5 separate regions of the Homo sapiens genome follow, and all the other regions are linked to region 1. Evidence: promoter capture Hi-C in 16 types of primary human blood cells and fetal thymus (Javierre and others, 2016). All regions are on one chromosome and are shown on one strand. Each heading gives the region's core, a stretch centred on a gene start or on the middle of the fragment in contact. The rest is flanking DNA. Distances are from core to core; before and after follow the strand shown. Region 1 holds the start of HEY1 (hes related family bHLH transcription factor with YRPW motif 1). Region 2 overlaps LNMICC (lncRNA associated with lymph node metastasis in cervical cancer). Region 3 overlaps PAG1 (phosphoprotein membrane anchor with glycosphingolipid microdomains 1). Region 4 holds the start of PKIA (cAMP-dependent protein kinase inhibitor alpha). Region 5 overlaps ZNF704 (zinc finger protein 704).

Evidence for each region. The method cuts DNA at HindIII sites, captures the fragments that hold promoters and counts their contacts. A CHiCAGO score of 5 or more calls a contact.
Region 2: a fragment that was not itself captured here is called in contact with the fragment with the promoter of HEY1 in region 1 in 3 of 17 cell types (activated CD4 T cells, fetal thymus and naive CD8 T cells); the score reaches 6.9 in activated CD4 T cells.
Region 3: a contact is called between a fragment that was not itself captured here and the fragment with the promoter of HEY1 in region 1, in 1 of 17 cell types (fetal thymus). The highest score is 7.3, in fetal thymus.
Region 4: a contact is called between the fragment with the promoter of PKIA here and the fragment with the promoter of HEY1 in region 1, in 1 of 17 cell types (fetal thymus). The highest score is 5.6, in fetal thymus.
Region 5: a contact is called between a fragment that was not itself captured here and the fragment with the promoter of HEY1 in region 1, in 1 of 17 cell types (fetal thymus). The highest score is 5.7, in fetal thymus.

What each region holds. Positions count from the first base shown.
Region 1 is chr8:79,766,463-79,769,062 of GRCh38, forward strand. HEY1 (hes related family bHLH transcription factor with YRPW motif 1) reads right to left here and starts at 1,305. Exons shown (of 5, transcript NM_012258.4): 1 at 1,113-1,305; 2 at 757-832; 3 at 547-630; 4 at 189-270. The coding sequence starts at 1,201. It overlaps LINC01607 (long intergenic non-protein coding RNA 1607), which reads left to right and starts at 1,680. Exons shown (of 4, transcript NR_125410.1): 1 at 1,680-1,756. RefSeq lists an enhancer at 828-877 and silencers at 1,328-1,807, 1,848-2,207, 2,308-2,477. The HindIII fragment of the contact is 6,216 bases long and covers 1-2,600 here.
Region 2 is chr8:81,276,150-81,278,749 of GRCh38, forward strand. It overlaps LNMICC (lncRNA associated with lymph node metastasis in cervical cancer), which reads right to left. Exons shown (of 2, transcript NR_186603.1): 2 at 1-2,600. Among named protein-coding and RNA genes, the nearest start is that of FABP5, 3.1 kb to the right of the region's middle. The HindIII fragment of the contact is 1,153 bases long and covers 735-1,887 here.
Region 3 is chr8:81,108,153-81,110,752 of GRCh38, forward strand. The region is part of intron 1 of PAG1 (phosphoprotein membrane anchor with glycosphingolipid microdomains 1); the gene reads right to left. Among named protein-coding and RNA genes, the nearest start is that of PAG1, 2.6 kb to the right of the region's middle. The HindIII fragment of the contact is 420 bases long and covers 1,115-1,534 here.
Region 4 is chr8:78,515,030-78,517,629 of GRCh38, forward strand. PKIA (cAMP-dependent protein kinase inhibitor alpha) reads left to right here and starts at 1,311. Exons shown (of 4, transcript NM_006823.4): 1 at 1,311-1,439. The region is part of intron 2 of LOC105375911 (a long non-coding RNA gene); the gene reads right to left. RefSeq lists a silencer at 1,256-1,555 and an enhancer at 1,876-1,985. The HindIII fragment of the contact is 11,771 bases long and covers 888-2,600 here.
Region 5 is chr8:80,869,736-80,872,335 of GRCh38, forward strand. The region is part of intron 1 of ZNF704 (zinc finger protein 704); the gene reads right to left. Among named protein-coding and RNA genes, the nearest start is that of ZNF704, 3.7 kb to the right of the region's middle. The HindIII fragment of the contact is 1,981 bases long and covers 292-2,272 here.

The DNA.
Region 1 (2,600 bases), core at 55-2,554:
TGGTGAATTCACTGGAGAAGATTCTATGTGCATTCGAAAATGTACTGACAGGGAACTGCACACACCACACACCGTTCTCTCCCCACCCCCAAAGAAAAATCAGGCAGCTACTGCACCAATCCTGGCCTTCAGCCGCTGCTCACTCTTTGCCAACCATTCAGAGCCCCCACTAGGTCTAGGAGATGTACCTTTCCCTCCTGCCGTATGCAGCATTTTCAGGTGATCCACGGTCATCTGCAGGATCTCGGCTTTTTCTAGCTTAGCAGATCCCTAAAGATGAGAATGGCAAAAGATTGATTTGGCACAAGTTCCTTTGGGGAACAATTTAAAATATGCAAACATATATACAAAGATACATGCTTTGTAAATCGTAAAGCATGGACTAAAGCAAAATCAGTTGTCTTCACAAAATACGCTGGTATCTGTGTACGAATTCATCTAGGCACAAGCAACACAGCTATTTTCCAAGGCGGATGAGATTAATGAGGGGAAGATTCAGAAGGTGCAGATAGCTATGCTGAGAGCTTTACCTACTTGCTCCATTACCTGCTTCTCAAAAGCACTGGGTACCAGCCTTCTCAGCTCAGACAAACTGTTATTGATCCGGTCTCGTCGGCGCTTCTCAATTATCTGCAGAAGGCAAGCAAAACAAAGGAAGGCATTACCATTACGACTGTAAATTTCAAAGACAAAAAAAAAGGTGGTTATTTCCGTTAATCAATAACAAAAATAAAAGGAGAGTGTAAAGAGACTCACTCCTCTCCGTCTTTTTCTGGCCAAAATCTGGGAAGATGTAGTTGGGGACATGGAACCTAGAGCCGAACTCAAGTTTCTGAAAAGAGAAAAAGAACAAACAAAAACTGAAATCGCCGTTAAACGAGGAGAGGTGATCTGAGAGGTCGCCCCCACACCCTCCCCGCACTCAGACTTTTTTTGCCACTTGGGCTGGAAGGCACCTAGGGGTTCCCTGGCCGCAGGCTGCCGCCAGCCTGCGACGCGCGGAGGTCAGCGCAGGGCACCGGCGCGCCAAGGGTCCTAGCCCGCTGTCACCGCGGCAGGCCTGCGCTCGCCTCCCGCTCTGGCTCGGCTCCGCTCCGCCGCCGCCAGCTCACCCATTCTCGTCCGCACTCTCCTTCTCCACCTCGATGGTCTCGTCCAGCTCGCTGTCCGAGGAGCTGTACTCGGGGTGAGCTCGCTTCATGCTGGCTCCCTGGGGGTTCCTGGGGAGGGTCGGCGCGGCGGGCAGGGAGGAGTTAACTACAGCGGCGCCTCTCCGCTCTCGGCTGCTTGCGTTCCGCACACACTGATCCCGCTCACGCTTTGCCTCTGGTTAAAACTCAACCATCCTTTCCCACGCTGAGCCCCTTCCCAGGGCCCTGGGGAGGGCGGGGGAGTGGGGAAGGCGGGCGAGGGGGCGGAGAGGCGGGGCGGCAACTCCAGGGCAACAGCCGCCCCCCGGCCAATCCGGTTTCTCGCGCCGCTGATTGGCAGCCGCTCCGGGGAGGGGCGGGAGCGAGGCCGAGGGCTCTAGCGGACCGCGCCCCCGCCCTCCGCGCCCGCCCCTGCCCGGCGGCGGTGCGTCGGCTCCGCGGGGGCTCTGTCCAGCCTGCACTCAGGGGAAGGAGGAGGCGCGGGCGGCGGGGAGGCGCGGGAGGCCGGGCCGGGACACAAGCCCGCCGGCGGCCGCGGCTCCTCCCCGCCCCGCGCGCCCCGATTGGCCTGGCCGCGCGCCAGGGCCGAGCCTGCAGCGCCTCCGGTGAGCCGCACGCGCCGCGGGCCGTGGGAAAGTGCCGGCGCCGCGGCCGCCAGCCAATCCGGGCGGCCGGCGACGGCGACGGCGGCGGCCGCGCTGGCGGCGGCGGCGGCGGCGCTGGGCGTCCGCATGAATGGAGAAGAATGGGCAGGCGGGGAGCCGGGCCGCGCGAGGGCGCGCCGGCGGGGGCTGGGCGGCCGCCGGCCGGGCCCCCAGTGTGAACCTGTAATCGGAGCCTGGGCGCCGGCCGGCCTCGGAAGCCGCCGCCTAGCGCCACCGTAAATCTCGCCCGCGTGGCCGCCAGTGCCCGGCGGCTGGAGGCGCGCGCTGTTAGTGGGGCCGTGCCGGGTGCACCTGGCCGGGCTGCGCGCCGGCGGCTCCGCGGAACCCGCAGGGAGCCGGGAGAGGGGGCGCCGGGCGCGTCCACAGTGGCCACCAGCCCAGGGGCCGGTCACATGGAGGAGCAAGCTGTGGGCTCAGGGGACGCTCTTTTTGATTTCTGGGACCGAGGCCGCACATGCAGCCAGACTCGTTTCCGCAGGGGCTTCCCAGCCGCGGAATGGAATGAATACCCCTGTGCATCTCATTTCCGGGGAAGGGGAGCACTTGTTTTTTCGGCCGCCTTGGGGAAAAAAAAACCCAACGGTCCCTGGGAATAATCATTATGCTGGGATTTTTTTGTTGTTCCCCCGCTGCCCCCCCCCCCGCCCCCTCCCCCCGGCGGCCAGATCCTCTCAGCGGGCGACAGGGTGGCGGTGCTGGCGTTTGCGTCTGAGGCCGGCCTTGCTGAGGGAATGCACGTCTCTGGCCCCAGACACACACCTCTGGCTTCGGTGGCTTGGCGTGG
Region 2 (2,600 bases), core at 61-2,560, 1.5 Mb after region 1:
CGGATTTAGGTAGGTTATTAAGTGCTGATGATTCTTCTTCAAAGCTAATCCAGAAAAATGGAAGCAGTGGGCCTGACTCACTGAGATAAATAGCTTAGAGGCAAGCAAATCCACGGTTTTGTAGATTTGACTTGAAAAAAATCATTAATTCTTATAGATAAATATCAAAATAGAGAAATGATCAAATGGTGTGAGAATCTAGGAATACTGCATGGGAGGTAGGAATGAAAAATAGAAAAGGGTAATCTACAAGAAAAGAATTTGGCCTCTTCCAGTGGGAACATATCATTTGGAGGTTTTTTATGTTTGAAATTTTTTAAGGACAGAGATGCTCATTATTAATGTGTCTGTGTGTTTGGGCTTGGCCAGCCTAAGATTTTGTATATAAGGAGGCTTAGGAGTAATAATGTGATTAGAAGCGGGCTTGAAGAGGTTGGGGTTGCTAAGGAATTTGTTTTGAAGTTGCATTGCCTGGTAAACATAGTGCTTTTACTAAGATTTTGTGTTTATTGGGGTGGCTTTGCTAGCATCCTCCCGCTCCATTTCAAGCTGTGCCCTTTGGAGTTGTGCTTTTAAACCTTTGAACACTGCTCATATGAGGTATAAAAGGGTTATCCCAAACTATGTGTATCTGTTGCCATGAGCTATTGACAAATGTAATATACAATAATACACATGTCTGGAAAGTAGGAAGATCTATATAAGTAAGGGAAATGTATGAATTTTATACTGAAAGCTTTTATTATAAAATGAGCCATTATGTCCTCTGCCTTATTTTGAAGCCATTCACTTTTTATTACTGTAACTTTTGCAATGCCTCATTTTCCCTCCAGCTATCCTCTAGTCCAGTTAACTCAGCAAGCACAAGTTTATGATGGATCATTTAAGGAGCTGGAAAATTTTAATGGTTAGCCGTGGCAGTTATGATGTGTAAGACTCTAACTGCTTTAAGTAAAAGGACAAAGTTCAAAATATAACTCCATCTTTATAAGTGCTTTAATTAAAACCAATCTTATTATGAAAAACAAACCAAAAAAACCTTGCATTGATGGATGGTAGCTATTTGCAATTTCTTGTTTTGGCTGGATGCATTGAAGGATTAAAAATTTAATATTTAAGGTGTGCCTTAAACTGCAAGGTTCCCTGATTTTATTCTCATCTAGGAATTTTTGCTGCTTTAGGTAGCTGACAACATGCAGATCCATACTCTATCTCTTAAGATTTTCTTTTGGAACTGATTCCAGGTGAAATTTTCTTAGGGAAGATGTGGCTAGAAGCTGGGTATGCAAAGCATGTCTATAGCAAGGAAAGCCAGATGAGTGAGGGTCAAAAATCTAGTTATAAAATTTAAGGGAGACACTAGGTTTAAATAAACATATTCTCCAACCTTAGTGATTAATTTTTTTCCTTTTTTGATCATCTGGCCATGTACTTAGAGAAGACTCAGTTCCCTGAAAATGGATTACTTTGAATATTCTCTGCAATAATTTAATGTAGTACTCTCCATTTCTCTACCAACTGCCTGTTGCTAAGCCACCAACACTTAACTGTCCTTAGGAAGAACTAATATACAATAATCAACTTTGTGGAAGGCACATCTATGTACATAAACTTTAACTGGGAAGTTGTCTTTAAATAAAAATGACACAATATGCTCCAAAGCTGTGTGTGATTACAGAATGAGAAGCTGAAAAACTACTCACGTTTATCAAGTAAAGCCTCAGAGAAATATTACGGTTTCACCACTAGGTGGAAATAGAGTAATTTTGAGTACGCTTTTTCAAGGCCATGAACTTCTACTGCAGGAGTACTTCATAAACTGAAGGGGACCTAAAAAATCATTTAGTATTAATTCTCATCTCCTTAAATTCATAGATGATAAAACTAAGCTTCAGAGATATTAAGTAAAATTGCATCTGTCTTGAAAAAGGCAGTTTTCTAAGCTACTGGAAGAAGAGTTGCTAGTAATTCTTGATTCTTCAGTCATTTTCATCCATAAGAATAATGTGTTATTATCTTCCAGTGTGAAGGAAAACATGATATAACACCTGTATTACCTATGTGCTGTTACTAAAAATAATGAACAGCACAGTTACTAATGTTCGTAAGGACAGGTTAGGATAAAACTATTGTTTCTTGTTTCCTATGTTGTAATTAATCACAATCAAGTGATGATTCTCCTCCTTCTTTCCAAGAAGAAATACTCAACCATCTCCATAAAGTTATATGAGACTTCAGTGAAATTTGATTTCACAACATTTTTGGTTTTACACCTCATAATGGGTGCAAGGTAAGTAGCCTAGAATAGGCCTTTACTTAGCGGGTGAAGGCAGTACTTAACTGCTTTTTCACAGCTTAAAATCCATTACCATTACTCTGGAGAAGGAAAGAATCTGAGTAGTAGAGCTTAAGGGGCATTAGAAATAATCTACTCCAATCATACATCTGTATATGCATCAGATGTGGTGTCTGAAAACAAGACATTCAATGTGTTTCCCTGAGGAACAGAGCAATCACCATGCCCTTTTTTGTTCCACAAGATACAATAACGGTTATTATTCTGGCCATATAGCTTTGTTTTGTCTGTATGTTTTAACACA
Region 3 (2,600 bases), core at 75-2,574, 1.3 Mb after region 1:
ATCATGAACCTCATTCAAGTCACAAAAGTGATCAGGGGAGACTTTTACTATAGAATAACCAACCCAGAGCAGGGGAACACTTGAAATTAACTATTAAGTAAGCAAAAGGGAATATCTGTTCTCTGAAAAGGAGGGTTCAAGTTGAAACAGAAGATAATTCAGAGATGTGAGATGACTCAGTCAATGGCAGGGGCTCTTTTGGGCACTTTGCAACTATGGTATTGTGTCCCCAGGCACATGGAGGCAGCCTACAGGAAGAGTAGAACTCTCGAAGAGTTTTGATTTTTTTTTTAAAGCCAACTTTGAGCATTTATATTGAAGCACCATTCAGTGTTAGCATACATTAGCTAAGAGATTTCATTAAACATTAAATCAGTCTGTGATTTAAATTAAATCAGACTGTGAGCAGTCTGTGGTCTATGTGCCCTATACGGCAATTAGATTTTAATCTCTAGAAATAAGACTTACAAAAGGCGAGAACACTATCTAGTATTTGGGTGATAACCTAACACAGCCACAAAAATGCCATGACCTCTCAATCATTCCCCACCTCTGGAACCCAGCTGAGAAGTCTAACAAGCTATGGAAACCTTAAAGGAAGTACTGCTCACACAGCACCCCGGAATCTGCTTCCCATGACATGGGGTACTAAGGCTTGAAGGAAGCATGCTTATTTAATGGTAAGTATAAATTATTTCTTTTTCTGAACATGCAGTTTAATATGAGGCAAAGTGCAAGGCCTCTCTCTGCCCAAGGGAGTTCTCCAGCTGGGACTGAATGCATATCCAGGGATGACGCTGTTTGTGGATTGATTACTGCTGCCGTGGTGGTTTCCTTGACTGTGTAGATTGCTGCAGCTACACGTGCAGGCAGGAAACCAAATGGAGACCACCACCCTCCAGTGTAAACTCTAACATCACACCAATTTTTCTTTTTTGACTCTCTGAATGCATGAATAGAAAAATAATAAAGCAACAGAATCCACTTCAAATTGAAAGACCTGGCACCTCTACCACACATTAGGAGGTATGGAAGCATGGGCAAGTTATTTAACAATAATTATGATCATTTCTGTTGTGGGTGCTGTTAAGCACTTTGCATACTTTAATCCTTAAGCTTAGATTTCTTCATGTATAAATTGAGGATAATAATGCAACTACTTCATTTGCAAGTTGAGGCAGCAGGGTCAAAAAGAACACAGTTTCAACACAGACAGACGTGGGTTAAATGCCAGCTCCAATTTCTACTATTTGATCTCACTGAGCTCCCATTTTCTCATCTCTAAAGTAGAGATGAAGCCACTTACCTCAAAGGACTGTGGTGGGGAATTGAGCAAGACAGTGTTAAATACCAGTTGGTGTCTGTATCGCTAGACAGTGCACAATAAATGTTTATACCTTCTCTCCTATTATACACATGAACTGCTTCTGTTAATATTCATCAGCAGCAATTCAATGTCCATAGCAGCAATTCAATGTCCATAGAGTCCAAAGATGCATTTCCTTTCATAACAATGAAAATTTTTCCCAGAACAAGCTTAATATGCCAGATACTGGCCCAACAGCTCTATGTCTATGAACTCATTTAATTCTCACTACTGTTCAGTGGGGTAGGTACTACTACTGTCATCCCCATTGTACAGATGAAGACACTGAGGCACAGACTTTGGGTTACTTGCCTAGATTCAAACAGATGGTACCAGAGCTGGCAGCCTGGCTCCATAGCCTGTCCTCCTAACCAGGCTGCAATAGGGCTTAATGGGTCAATCTGTTTGAGATTCCATGCTTGGATGTAATCTCTTCTAGAGATAAGCACTGGATGCTCTCACAAACCGCAATGTGTTGATGTGACTAACTTTTCAACTTCTGAAATAACATTTTGTGTATTTTCTTAGTATTCCTAAAAAAAAACCCTTTACACTTTAAATAAGGTGCCTATAACTAGTTCATCTTGTTCTGCATGCTGAAATACCATAAATAAATGCACTTCTCTCTTCAAAGATTATGTAAATAAATCTTACATTAAAACATACCCCTGAGCTTTGGTTTAAACAATAATTTCAAGTCCAAATTAAACATTTATGTATGTGTATATATATTTAGCAGGAAAGTCTTAATATGACCTATTTTGTTAAACTAATGACATCTATACCCAATACTCCAAATATTCCTCTTATTTATAATATTCGCTGTGTAACAGTCACACAGCAGTACTGCATGGTACTTCAAAGTACTATTCCTTTTACAAGTTTAACCAACTCAGGTATTAAACATCAATGATGATAATCCATAGCTCTGCTTAAAAGGAATCTCTCGGGAACAGCTGAGAAAGAAAGGTTAAAGATTTCTATCCTTCAAAGTAGGGCACTGCAGCTACCTATAAATCATGCTCTTTGTTTATTAAGATAATTAGGCCCATCAGTACACTTAACTTTTAGACTCAACAATTGTCTGGCATGAACAATTTCCACTTTTTCTAAAACAAAGGGGATGTGTTCAAAAAGCGGTCCTCTGCATGCTCTCTGCACAATGCATGCTATTTTAAAACATGATTTATGGGTCTAATTCCTGGAGCTGCCTTGAAAAATATAGTGGGTTGTT
Region 4 (2,600 bases), core at 61-2,560, 1.3 Mb before region 1:
ACATTATCACCTAACTTTGGGACTGATAGATGGATGGAAACATCTCATTTAGCAAAGGTGCTTCCCTGGCCTTGTGCAATTGCACTGTTTAGGTTGCTGGACAAATCCATAGTGTAAAGCTGGCCTGTATCAAGTGACGGTCAATTCAAACAGCAAGGCAAGTTAAAAGAGGGAACTCCATTCCACAGAACCCTAGTGTCAAGGAACCTCCCGACTGGAAAATGACTCAACAGCTAGGCGGAAACCCTGGCTCAGCTACAAAGAGAGCAAATTTAGTCCCATTTTTCCTTAAACATTCAACCCTCAAACCTGAAGAGATTTGGGAAAGAAGCAAAACGGGAGGGTGGGGGAGAGAGAACAGTCTTGTTAACAGCTAGTGTTAATTTAAAAAGAGAAGGAAAGGGCTTATATGAATACATGCTTATTTCATTCCCAAAGCAAATTTTCATAAATCCTTAGGGAAAGAGAGATAGTCATTTGCTAATGTAGACTCTGCTTTTTGATTCCCAAATGTTACAGCTGTCACCACAACAGTTTGCCCAATTATGTGGCAGGGAGGGGAGGGGGTCCAGAGCAAAGGAAGTAGGAGGAAGAGATGTTAGAGGGAACATCTGTGCACAAGTGCACCATAAACACAACAAAATCATGGGGCCACCCCACTGTTTCTTTGAGCGCTTTCTCTGGTTGGCCCCACTTCTCCAGTCTTTTAGGAGATTCCCGTTCTATTACGTAGGTGAGAGGGCGAAAGGTTCTAGCTTTCAAAATTGTGAGTGGTTTGGCTGTGTGCATACGTGTGTGTGCGCGCGTGTGTGCGTGTGTGTGTGTGTTTGCGTGTGTGTCTGTTGGCGGGGGCGGGGGTGATGGAGAGAGCTATGAAGGGCTTAGAAAGCTTCATTACCAATTTAAAATGTTTTTGTAGTGCTTGAATGTTTATCTTAAAAGACAATTCCTGCTCTCAAATTCAGCCAAATGAACAATGCTGATAAGGAAGATGAAGAGGGTGGGAAACCCACAGGGGCAAATGGAACAGTCCATGCAGCCGGGGTGACGGGGGAGCGCTCGGAGGAAGGACGCTATGCAGAGAAAGCCCCCCTGGCTCTTCTCTCTCAATCCATAATCCAGCGATGCTGCAGCTGTAAAAGCATTAATAGAAAATCAATCCACAACCTCGCGGGGCAGCGATCGTCGAGCGCCGTTTCCAGGCTGCCTTCCCTGGGGTCGGGAGCGGCCCCGCTCCCCCCGTGGCTGGCGCGGAATGTGGTGATCCGTCCCGGGGCGGGGATGACTTCATGCAGCCGGAGCTCCGCGGCGGGAGCGGAGGCTGCTGCTGGCAGGTGGGGCGCGGGCCGGCGCGAGCTGACCGAGCACTCGGCGGGCGCGGCGGGACTGCGGCCCGTGGCGGCGTGCGCGGGGACCTGCGCTGACTAGGTCCGGGGAAGGTAAGCAGCCCGGCACCGGTGCGCCCTGGCCGCACTGCGTGGAGCTTTCCGCTTGGTTAATAATGGGGTTTGCAGCACGGAGGGAAGAAGGGGAGAACCCCGCTGCATTCTGCAATGAGAAAAGGAGCAACAACTAGGATGGAAATGTTGGGCGGCCAAGTGCAGAGGTTGGAGGAGCAGTGTTACTGGGCAAACAAAGAAGGCGTTCTTGCCTCTATACTCTTTTGAACGTGATCTACCATTTCAGTGCCAGATTCGCGTAGACAGTGAAGAGGACTCAAAATTTAAAATAATTTGAGTTACTCTTTTGCTTTCTGTGCCTTTTACCTTCGCTTGAGTATTTTGAGGATTTGGAGCAGTAGGTCCCTGGCAGCAGCCTGAGGTAATCAGAAATCGTCCCTCTTCCTGTAGTCCTTGGTCCTCTCCCTTTCCAGTTATCAGAATGGGTCTGTGCCCCTCTCAATGGCAAAACACCTGCTTCAAGACTGAACCTTTAGAAAGAGCCTCTATCTGGAGGGGAAACTTCTCTTATCTCCTGGAGTTCAGCTTGGGTTGAGCAGCACTTGACATCGCTTCTTCCTTCAATTGCCATTTTCTCTGTCAATCATTTCATTGATCTTTTTCGGAGATGCTGTGCCCATTCACAGACCAACTCTCGTCAGCTCTTATCCACCACCTGGGTTCCATGACTGATTTTGTCAAGGTCCCAAAAAGGGCATTGCCTCACACAGATTTCTTATTCGGTATTCTCCCTGTATACTGTTACCTGTGTCCTTCCCCCAAATGCATGGAATGAAATATCCTGCTTGTGGCCCTGTACCAACATGTTATCCCATTAACTCCCTTCGCTGTAGTCACTGTGGCTACTTGAAAGCTAGAGAGGACAGATAGAATCTACTGGAGTGTGAGGGATGTTCCCTATGCATAGGCATAGGTAGAAGTAAAAATGTGAATGCCAGTCCATCCAGTTTTTCTTGAAGCAATTTTAGTCCAGTTGGATTTTGAGACAGCTAGCTGTTAAGATTTGGGACAAATCCTTTCCAAAAGGCAGAGGAGTCCGTTTGCCTCTAGGATTCCTCAAGAACCTCAAAAGAGTTTCCAGTGAGGTTTTCCTCGTAGGCAGTCAGAAAGCCAATGGAGCTGCCCAATCTAAGCCTCTGG
Region 5 (2,600 bases), core at 32-2,531, 1.1 Mb after region 1:
CTTCTAACCAACAGAATATGGCCAAGTTTCTGGCCTATTCCTCCTGACTACATTGCATTATGCAAGGCTCCATCTTGCTGGCAGGCAGGCTCTAAGATTCTCCTTGCTGGCTTGATGAAGTAAGAGGCCAAGCTAAGGAGTCCCATGTGACAAAAAACAGCAGTAAGTAGGGAAGGGGAGGGGGAGAAGAGCTCTACAAGCTGAGAACAACTTCCAACTGATAACCAGCAAGAAGCTAGGACCCTCAGTCCTACAGATGCAAGGGAATGAATTCTGCCAACAATCTATGTAAGCTTACAAGTTAATTATTCCCTGGTCAAGCCTTCAGATGAGAACTCAACCCATGTAGCACCCTGATTGCAGCCTTGTGAGACTCTTCACAGAAAACCTAGTTAAGCTGAGCCTAGACTCCTAACCCACAGAAACTCTAAGAACTGTTTTAAAGCAAAAAAAAATTTGTAGTAATTTGTTACACTACACTACAATAGAAAACTAATAACCCCTCTTCCACATAATTCCCATGATGCTTTAGTCATAACACTAGGGTCTACTGTATCCCATCTTTTAAAAAAACCTAGGCCATAGGCCTTCCAGCTATTCCTCCTCCTCTTTGTTCTCCTTTCCAAAAAACTTGTCAAAAGAGTTTTTCCTGTGTCCCTCTGTCCACACCTCTCATCGGCTGCTCAGCCTACTCCAAGCACATCACTCAAACTTCTCTTGTCAAGGACACTAGTAAGTTCCATCTTATCTAATCCAAATGAACATCTCTCTCTCTCTTTCTTATTCTATATCTCAGCAGCATTCAATACAGTTCATTACTCCCCACCCACTTTTTGGAACTATTTCTTCTCTTGGCTTATTGGACTTTAGATTTTCTAGTTTTCCTTCTACTTATTTGGCTGCTGCTTCTCAATAGTGTTTGCTGGCTTCTCCATTTACACCCAAACTTAAATAGTGCTGTGCCCCAGAATCAGGCCCCAGGCTCTCCTCTCTTGGCCCCCTGCACTCCCTTAAAGCCCCCAGGCTTTACATGACATTAACATACTGATGTCGCTCAAATTCCTCCCACTATCCCTGACCTCTCCTATCCACTCCCCATCTCACCACCATCTGCCTAACCACACCCTCCACCTGGTTGTCCAATAGTCATCTCAGAATTCACATGCACAAAACAGAAAACCTGATTTTTGTTCTCTCGGTTTTCCTAATCTTAGTAAATGGTACCTTCAACCAACATTTACATCATGGTCTCATCCTGGATTCCTCCCTTTCCTTCATTACCCATCAACCAACCCATCCACAAGTTCTTGTAGGTTGATCCTCACAATAGATTCTGAATTTGCCATCTCCTGCCAATCTCTAACTCCAAGCTGCCCTCTCCCTCCCTTGGTCTGTGTAGTGACAGCCACCCAACTGGCCTCCCTGCCTCTACTACTGTCCTCCACACAGCATGGATCTTTTGAAAACTACAAATTACCTTGTAAGACTTTATTGCTTAAAACTTTTCAAAGATTTCACTATCCTTTTAAAGGGCCCACCAGGCTCTCTTTGCAGGCACCTCCCAGCCTCCTTGACATATCTCATACCTACCAAGTTCCAGCCACACTCACCCTTTTCTCCTTTCCACCTCAAGACTTGCAACTGCTACTCCCTCTGCCTGGAAAGCTCTTCCCATGCGAAATGTCTCATATCTCAGGTCAAATGTTCCCTCCTCAGAGAGATCTCACCCACAGTAGCTTTCTCTTCTTCCTTTGAAACTCTAAGATATCATGATTTTCTTCACAGGACACACCACAATCTGAAGTGTTATTCTTGCTTATGCATGTACATCTGCATCTATGTATTTGATTGTTGCTATGATGCCTCTCACTAGATGTGAGCATCAGGAAGGTGTCCACTGCTATGTTCTAGAATAGCTGCTAGCACATAATAGGTGTTCAATAAATATTTGTTGAATAAATGAATGCATGAATATATGTAAGAGGTTAACATTCGTATATGCATTATAATAAAATTATCTAGTGATATTCCATTAGAAAATCTCTTCAGATACAGTGTCTTTAAAAGAGTAATTTAAAAGATAAACCTCAAATGACTCCAACATTCTGTGTAAATTTCTGAAGTTGTGGGCAAATGAGAGTGTTATAAAATGAAGCCCATTTTGAAAGAATTTAAAGGAAATTTACTTGAAGATGTGAAAAACCTTTACTGATCAAGTGAATTATCACACTCATTATTCTGTTTTTACGGATTTGATTTTTTCCCTATATTAAGCTTGTTTTCATCACAGAGCATAAATTATTATTGTTTCTATCACAAATTGTGCAATCACTATTCAAACCACAGGACACACTTTCAGTATTTCTGGACAAAAATGCTAAGGAGTCACTACTCTTGATATTCAATGTCACTGACACCATGTGACTTCATTTCAAACCCAGCTATATCTTGTAGCCATACAATGCAGGCTTTTCAACAGACCATGGTAATGAATGTGGTCACGGTTTGGATTTCAACAAGCAGCTGTCAAAAACTATCATCCCAAATAACTACTTGCTGAAAATTTCTCACTCCCAGAGCTGGTACTTCCAGGGTGGTCT